Linked DNA regions of Homo sapiens: all the other regions are linked to region 1. The links are contacts of gene promoters, found by promoter capture Hi-C in blood cells and fetal thymus (Javierre and others, 2016). All regions are on one chromosome and are shown on one strand. The core of a region is centred on a gene start or on the middle of the fragment in contact, and the rest is flanking DNA. Distances in the headings are between cores, read along the strand shown. Region 1 holds the start of CACNB4 (calcium voltage-gated channel auxiliary subunit beta 4). Region 2 overlaps CACNB4 (calcium voltage-gated channel auxiliary subunit beta 4). Region 3 overlaps STAM2 (signal transducing adaptor molecule 2).

Region 1 (2,743 bases), core at 179-2,678:
ATACTTGGGTATTGATGACTAGACCTGCCTGCTTGCTGGAAGGTTTGTATAGAGAGATCAAGATGGAGAAATGAGATGGAGAGTGATCAGAAATGCAGGAGAGGCTGAGTTGTTGGACCATGGAGTTTGGACTTTATCTTAGAGAAGAGTGACTTGGGCAAGATATTTTAGGAAAATGGTTTTGCCTGTAGTGTGTAGATGGAATGAAATCTCTGCGTGTGTATGTGTGCATGTGCATACGTGCACATGCACCAGGAAGCCTGGAGGCAAGGACATTAGTTATAAGATTGTTACAGAGGTTTGGATTAAGTGAAGGGATTAGGAATGGAAAGGAAGTGTCTGGTGGATGGTAAGATATAACCAGGACCTCAATAAAGCCAAGCAATTATTAAAACAAGCATGGTAGTTGTGTCCATAAACATAAAGTCCTAGAATGCAAGCTGATTTAGCGATTTGAGATAGTAAGTATATTTTAATTTAAACGGAGTCTCTTTATTTTTGAATTTGCATATACTTTTCTTCCCTCTTCTTATTCCTCTGTCAATACCTCGCACTTATTCTTCCTTTCCGCAATCCCTCTCTTTTAATTTGATCACAAATTAATCTCTTGTATGTATTTACAGGAGGAAACCAATGGCAAACGTTGTGTATGGTTGCAAGGATGAGTTTCTCCCCCTTGAAAATATCCATTCGCATAGAAATGGGAGGCACAGTGACCAACTCTTGCTTCTTAGCAGGTCTAACATGACCTTCAAAACTCCGTAGGACATACTGGTCTTTGGCGGGGCAGCATCTCCCGTCAGACTCAGGCTGGCTGGGTTTCTCACAGCTGCCTGGATGTGTGTGACTCGCAGCTCTAAGGACAGAATTGCCAAAGCAATACAAAAACACGGACGAAAAGCAAGCCACAAAACCCCATGCCTTACACATTAGGCTGATGAGTGAAGTCGCGGAAGGTGGCTCTGCTCTTGCCCTTTTAAAATTCCAGTGCAGCAAACACACACACACACACCCGCTCGGTTCTTCCCATTCCCGCCACACTGCACCAGCTTCCGTCCCCAAGTCCTGATTCATGAACCGTGCCACCTTTGTCTCATTTTAAACTGTGCAGACTATTTTAATCTTGCCACCCCCATCCCAGATTTCCCCCTCCCTTCATCCTCTGGAAGCTCTGATGTAAAGCGCTTGCTAGGTGGGAGAGCGCTTCTCCCAATCCGCTCGGGTAGGCGAGTTTCCGAGAAGCCCCCTCCCCGGGACCCCGCCGCGAGCGCGGGGGAAGCGCCTCGGTCCCTTTAAGGTGCCGCGCTCTCCGAAGTGCGGGCAGGGAGCCTGGGCGCCGGCGCGGGTCCTGGAGCCGGGTGGGGAAGTCCTGCGCCCTCCCCCTCCGTCCGCAGCCCAGCCTCGGGGGCCAGCCCCCTCCGCCCACCGCACACGGGCTGGCCATGCGGCGGCTCTGAACGATGTCCTCCTCCTCCTACGCCAAGAACGGGACCGCGGACGGGCCGCACTCCCCCACCTCGCAGGTACCGCCCCCTCCTCCCCCTTCTCCTCTTCCTCCTCTTCCTTCCTCACACCTCCTCCGCCGCCCTAGCGCGCCCCGCCTTCGTGCCGGGCGTGCGGGGCCCCAGTCCCGGGAGTCGGCGGCCCCGCTCCCCCCACCCCTCCTCCACGTCCCTTTCTCCTCCCGCTCCTCCTCTTTCTCCTCCTTCTCTTCCTCCTCCTCCTCACCCTCCTTCGGGTCTCTGCGCTCCCGCTCCGGAGCCCGCAGCCTCCCCCAGCGGATGCCGGGGACTCGGACCCCGCACCCTGAGAGTCTTTGTTAATGGATGTGGTGGGTGCTTGCGGGCTGCTCTTCTCGAGCATCTTTTCAGCAGTCGAGGCTTGCAGTGGGTGGGTGGGGGTGGGGGCTGTATTTGGGAGTCGCGGAGGAGACTTGGGTGCGGGCTCTAGGGGACCCCAGGGAGCGGGTCCGGAGGCGGACTCCAGCCGGGGGTGGTCGCCCCGCTCTGCGCTGCGGTCCTCACCGGCTTCTCTCTGGCCCCCGTGTGTCGAGTCCAGGTGGCCCGAGGCACCACAACCCGGAGGAGCAGGTTGAAAAGATCCGATGGCAGCACCACTTCGACCAGCTTCATCCTCAGACAGGTATGAGAAGGAGGCGGGAGACCAGGATGGGGAGGAGGCCGAGCGCGCGGCGCGGGGGTCCTGGAGCCGGCCGTGGCCCACACGTGCGGGAGCTGCGGGTCAAGCCCGCGCGCGTCTCTTCCCGGCCTCGGCCGGTGCTCGGGCTCAGTCCCTCTCCCTCTAGCCTGGGCTCTTGACGTCTTCGCGTCCCGGCGTCTCCGCACCGCCCCGGGAAGTTAGTTTGTGCATGTGTGTGGACAGTTCGGTGGGGACCTGGCTTAAGTCAGGGACGTTGAATTTAAGAGCTGGAAATATGTCTGGTTGTATCTTTGGTGCGTGGAGAAATGTCTTTAATTCGTATAACTCGACCTAGAGTAACCAGACCCCTCGGGGCCGGGGACCTGGTTTGATTCGAGTTGAGATTTAGTGGTTTCTTCTGTTTTGTCCTAATTTGAATACTCTTATCTGTCTGGATCTTGGGAGAGATCGTCAAGCTCCGGTCAAAAGAAAGACACTGAGCAGAAAGTTTACTCTCACTTTAGGACCGCTTCTTGGATTCGCTTAGTTAGGGAAAGACAGCTGTATCTGGTTAAATAGGAATTAACGAAGGCCAGCACTCAGC
Region 2 (2,743 bases), core at 77-2,576, 73 kb after region 1:
GGTTCAAGCGATTCTCCTGCCTCAGCCTCCTGAGTAGCTGGAATTATAGGCGTGCGCCACCAAGCCCAGGTAATTTTTGTATTTTTAGTAGAGACTGGGTTTCACCGTGTGGGTCAGGCTGGTCTCGATCTCCTGACCTCGTGATCCGCCCGCCTCGGCTTTGGCTTTTATGGTGGTCAGTGGTTTGGGCTGGGGCCAAAGCTTGTGTGGTTTGAGCTTCCCACTGGAGCCAAAGAGGTAGCACATGGCTTTCCTGTCACTTCCCTTGGTGTGAGTCAGGAGGGGAGGTGGCAGGGGAGGAGCTTGAAAACTCAGGGAGGCTTTCCTGACCATAACTTGTGAATACCTGATTTTATATTTAAAATCTATCTAATTACAGTTTCTTCTGCTAGATTGTAAGCTCTTTGATTTGTTCAGCATCCAATTTCCACAGCTGAGAACTGCCCCAGGCAGTCAGAGGCTCTCAGTAGATATTTGCTGAAACAATACAAAGGAGATGAAGGAGTGGCCAGAAAAATGGGAGGAGGTGCCTGAAAGCCAACAGAAGAAATGATTCTAAGAAAGGAGGAATGTGGCTGGGAGCCCTGGCTCACGCCTGTAATCTCAACACTTTGGGAGGCTGAGGTGGGCGGACCACCTGAGGCCAGGAGTTTGAGACCAGCCTGGCCAACGTGGACCCTGTCTCTACTAAAAATACGAAAATTAGCCGGGCATGGTGGCATGTGCCTGTAATCCCAGCTACTGAGGAGGCTGGGGTAGAAGAATCGCTTGAACCCAGGAGGTGGAGGTTGCAGTGAGCTGAGATTACACCACTGCACTCCAGCCTGGGTGACAGAGTGAAACTCCGTATCAAAAAAAAAAAAGAAAGATAATTGTGTCAAATGCTGTCAATGGGTCAAGTTAGATGAGCCCAAGATTCCCCAATGGACTTAACAATATGGATACCATTGGTGACCTCAGTAAGACCAGTTTTGGTCTGGAGTAGTGAGCAGAAAAGCCTTATTGGAATGGGTTCAAGAGAGAATGGAAAGATTGAAGTTAGAGTCAGTTAATATGGACAATTCTTCTAGGTACTATAGCAGTAAAAGGGAGTGGAGGCCGAGTGCAGTGGCTCATGGCTGTAATCTCAGCACTTTGGGAGGCCGAGGCAGGCAGATCACCTGAGGTCAGGAGTTCGAGCCCGGCCAACATGGAGAAACCTCATCTCTGCTAAAAGTACAAAAATTAGCTGCGCGTGGTGGCATGCACCTGTATTCCCAGCTATTCAGGGGGCTGAGGCATGAGAATCGCTTGAGCCCAGGAGGCAGAGGTTGCAGTGAGCAGAGATGGCACCACTGCACTCCAGCCTGGGTGACAGAGCGAGAACCTGTCTCAAAGAAGAAGAAAAAAAAAAAAAGGGACTAGAGAAGTGGAGCCCAGAGAGGGTTTTTATTAATATGATAGCATGTTTATATGTTGACGCTGATGGAAACAGTCCAGTGGAAAGGAAGACGCTGAAGATTCAGGAGGGAAGGAGGAAAATTGCTGGGGCCCTGTCCTGGAGTAAGATCCAGTGCTCGAGTGGAAGGGCCGGTCTGTAAGGGATTTGGTCAGTTTGTTCACAACAACGAGAAAAGGCAGAGTGTGTGAACCCACTGCAGGTAAGAGGGGAGATGTGGTTCACTTCTGGTAGCTCCTAGGAAGCTCTGTGGACATTCATGCCAAGTGACTTGTGGTGGCCTCGGCCCTGCGCCTCCAGAGGTGTCGGCTGCATCAGCACCTGCAGGGGGCGCCCTGTGCACGTCCTGTTCTCACATCCTCTTTACTAAACACGGAGATAGATGGAGCAACCCTCCCGCTGCAAACACAGCTCTTCACAGCTCTGACGTTTTTCTACTATACTGCAAACACATCTGTAATCACATTTAAAAATAAATCCACACAAGAAAAATTCACTGTTTCTTGTATAACAAGTGTAACTGTGACTTCTGAGACAACGCTGAACATTTTCTGAAATCTTGTCAAAAACCACACGGGGGCACTATTCCTTTAAAATACACAGTACGGTATGTCCAATTTTGATGACTGAAACAGTGGCATCTTTGAAGTTCAATTTCCTGAAGTTTATTTTCCTTTTAGAAGAGAGGCTGTTGTGTCACAATAACAAAATATTTTCTGTACTTCATAGATGATTTGAGATATTCCAAACTCCTAGATTTTTTATTTAATCTGGCCCCTGGGCAATCATTCTTTTAGTGTTACAGCCACTTCCTTTGCATTTAAGGCACAATGCATATTTGTCTTATTTCTGCTCTTTCTTATGCTTACAATAGAGGCTGTGAGCTAGCAGCGAGTCCAGTTTGTGCTCATATCTGGAATAAGGTTGTCTGAAGTAGACAGTTTGAGAGAAAATGTCGTTGTCTTTCTTGGTTCTCATTCCACCGTTCCCCAGCTCTCGCCTCTGAAGCTTGAGCTATTACACTTTTTATGACAGGAAAGAAAAAATTAAGTCTTTTGAACAATTTCCTGTTTTCAGGAAAGCTATCAAACTTAATTTACACATATGAAAGAAGAGGTTTCAGAGGTAGTGTAGGATTAGGAGAATAGAATTTGCTCACTGTCTAGCAATAGATAAGCTAGTATTTGCAAATAATTTAGCCAAAATGACAAATTAGTTGAAAGTTAATATCGGGCCTCAGATTTCTGGTTTTGCAAAATTTATTTATTATTTTTATTTTTTTGAGACAGAGTCTCACTCTGTTGC
Region 3 (2,743 bases), core at 89-2,588, 72 kb before region 1:
AAGAAAATATCCTTAGGTCCCACCTCTTCTCCCCAGCTGGGCCTCAAGTGTTAGAGGGGTACAGGGATCTTGAGGTAGAGCCTGGTTGGAGTAGCCATTCTTGTAGAATTCCAAGGGGAAAGTGAAACATGGGGGACGGGGCCACAGTGGTTAGTGTTAACAGAGAAGATGTCATTTCCTTATTCATTGATTTCCAAGTCATGACTTGTCTGTTCTAAGCCTTAACTCCGGTTCTTGTTTGCATATCTTTTTTCCCTTTACTCAAGCCAGGCAATCTTTCTTGCCAGTTTTCTGCCTCTGTGCTATTTACCATTCATTGCTAAATGTTTGCTCTTTTCAACCTTGGTATTTCCTTTAAAGATACGCTTGTGTCCCACAAAGCTGAGCTCAAATTCTACCTCTACAAAACTCTGTGGACGCAGTGGTTTGAATTGTTAGCTTTTAAGAGAATACATTTCCAAGTGACATTTTAATGTGTGTATTGCTGTGTTTCTGACTTTTGCTGTGTTAGAAGAAGTTGACCAGGAAGTAGCTTGGGACTTTCTCCAGTGAAATGCAGTCATGCAGTCCTTTTCTCCAGTGAAATTTTATAAGAAATCCCAATATAAAAATAGATATTGATAGCATAAGAATAATATAAATTCATAACATACACACAAATTTATAACATTTACTTAACTAGGCCACTCTTTGTACAATAAGTTAAAATCTTTGTAAAAGTAAAAATTTTTTTAAAAAGTTTTTTGGTTTTGAATAAGAATAGTAGACTTAACAGCCAGTTTTTTTTCTAATATATTTTGTAGCTTTTTAAACTATGAAATATTTTCAGCATAAAATAGAAAATATGAACTCCCATTCCTGCCAGGCAATTATGTCAAGTGCTAATATTTTGATATACTTGATTCTTTTTTTTTAAGAAAGGAACATTCAAGATGCAGTGAAATACTTTAGTATTTTTAGCAGCTACCTGATCCCATTCTTCCTCCTTTCTCCGAGTTAAACACTCTATAAATAGATAGAAATTCTCTTTAATAGTATAATACTACACTTACAAATATACTATATATTGTTTGGATGTTTTTAAACTTCTTAAAAATGGTGTCTTTTTGTCATTCTGCAACTTTTGTCATCCAGCATTTCTTCTTTTTTGAGACGGAGTCTTGCTCTGTCGCCCAGGCTGGAGTGCAGTGGTGTAATCTCAGCTCACTGCAACCTCTGCTTCCCAGGTTCAAGCAATTCTTGTGCCTCAGCCTCCCGAGTAGCTGGGGTTACAGGTGCGCACCACCATGCTCGGCTAATTTTGCATTTTTTAGCAGAGATGGGATTTCGCCATGTTGGCCATGCCAGTTTCGAACTCCTGACCTTAGGTGATCTGCCTGCCTTGGCCTCCCAAAGTGCTGGGATTACAGGCGTGAGCCACCGTGCCTGGCCCATTCAGCATTTCTTCGTGAGAGTTATTCATGTTGATGTTTGTAGCTCTAGGTTATAAATTTTAATGGCTGCGTGATACTATACTACTATATGAATATGCATTATCTGTTGTCCTATTGACGAACATGACTTTGTTTTCAATTTCTTGCACCTACAGACAGCTCTGTATTGAAAGTTTTTATCTATGTTTTCTTGTGTTTATGGGTGCAAGATTCTTTTTTTTTTTTTTTTGAGACGGAGTCTTGCCCTGTCACCCAGGCTGGAGTGCAGTGGCGCGATCTCAGCTCGCTGCAACCTCCATCTCCCAGGTTCAAATGATTTTCCTGCCTCAGCCTCCCAAGTAGCTGGGATTACAGACGCCTGCTACCATGCCCAGGTAATTTTTTTTTGTATTTTTAGTAGAGACGGGGTTTCACATGTTGGCCAGGCTGGTCTCGAACTCCTGACCTCGTGATCCGCCCGTCTTGGCCTCCCAAAGTGCTGGGATTACAGATATGAGCCACTGTGCCCAGTGGAGTGCAAAATTCTTAAAGGTTGTCGTCTTGAAGGGGAATTCTTCAGTAGAAGTGTAGCTCTTGGCCTGGTGTGGTGGCTCATGCCTGTAATCCCAGCACTTTGGGAGGCTGAGGTGGACAAATCTTCTGAGGTCAGGAGTTTGAGACCAGCCTGGCCAACATGATGAAACGTGTCTCTACTGAAAATACAAAACTTAGCTGAGTGTGGTGGTGAATGCCTGTCATCTCAGCTACTCGGGAGGCTGAGGTAGAAGAATCACTTGAACCTGGGAGGCGGAGATTGTGCCACTGCACTCCAGCTGGGGCAACAGAGTGAGACTCCATCTCAAAAAAAAAAAAAAAGTGTAGCTCTTGCAAAGTTGCCCTTCCAAGTGTTTGTTGATTTCCCTCCTGTCAGCAGTGAAATTCCTGTTGTTCCACATCCTCACTAATGCTGAGCATTGTCAGATTTTCTAATTTATGCCTATCTGATGAATATGAAGTAAGACATTGTTTTCATTTCATTTTCTATTTCTACTTCATTGCCAGTGAAGATGAGCATTTTTTCATATGTTTCTTCATCATTCTGTTTTCTTTTTCTATAAATTGCCTGCTCATTACTTTTATTATTCTGTTGGGTTACTTTTTAAAAATTGATGGCAGGGTGCAGTGACTCACACCTGCAATCCAAACACTTGGTGGATTGCTTGATCTCAGGAGTTCGAGATCAGTCAGGGCAACATGATGAAACCCCATCTCTACAAAAAATACAAAAATTAGCTGAGCATGGTGGCGCGCACCTGTAGTCCGAGCTACTC

What was found. Contacts are between HindIII fragments. The CHiCAGO score rates a contact against its expected background, and 5 or more counts as called.
Region 2: a contact is called between a fragment that was not itself captured here and the fragment with the promoter of CACNB4 in region 1, in 1 of 17 cell types (M2 macrophages). The highest score is 5.6, in M2 macrophages.
Region 3: a contact is called between a fragment that was not itself captured here and the fragment with the promoter of CACNB4 in region 1, in 1 of 17 cell types (M2 macrophages). The highest score is 5.5, in M2 macrophages.

The regions. Positions count from the first base shown.
Region 1 is chr2:152,097,729-152,100,471 of GRCh38, reverse strand. It overlaps CACNB4 (calcium voltage-gated channel auxiliary subunit beta 4), which reads left to right and starts at 1,428. Exons shown (of 14, transcript NM_000726.5): 1 at 1,428-1,523; 2 at 2,059-2,142. The coding sequence starts at 1,461. RefSeq lists a silencer at 1,230-1,519. The HindIII fragment of the contact is 7,735 bases long and covers 1-2,743 here.
Region 2 is chr2:152,025,033-152,027,775 of GRCh38, reverse strand. All of the region lies in intron 2 of CACNB4 (calcium voltage-gated channel auxiliary subunit beta 4), which reads left to right. Among named protein-coding and RNA genes, the nearest start is that of CACNB4, 73 kb to the left of the region's middle. RefSeq lists an enhancer at 1,576-1,645. The HindIII fragment of the contact is 2,245 bases long and covers 204-2,448 here.
Region 3 is chr2:152,169,402-152,172,144 of GRCh38, reverse strand. All of the region lies in intron 1 of STAM2 (signal transducing adaptor molecule 2), which reads left to right. Among named protein-coding and RNA genes, the nearest start is that of STAM2, 5.0 kb to the left of the region's middle. The HindIII fragment of the contact is 4,391 bases long and covers 1-2,743 here.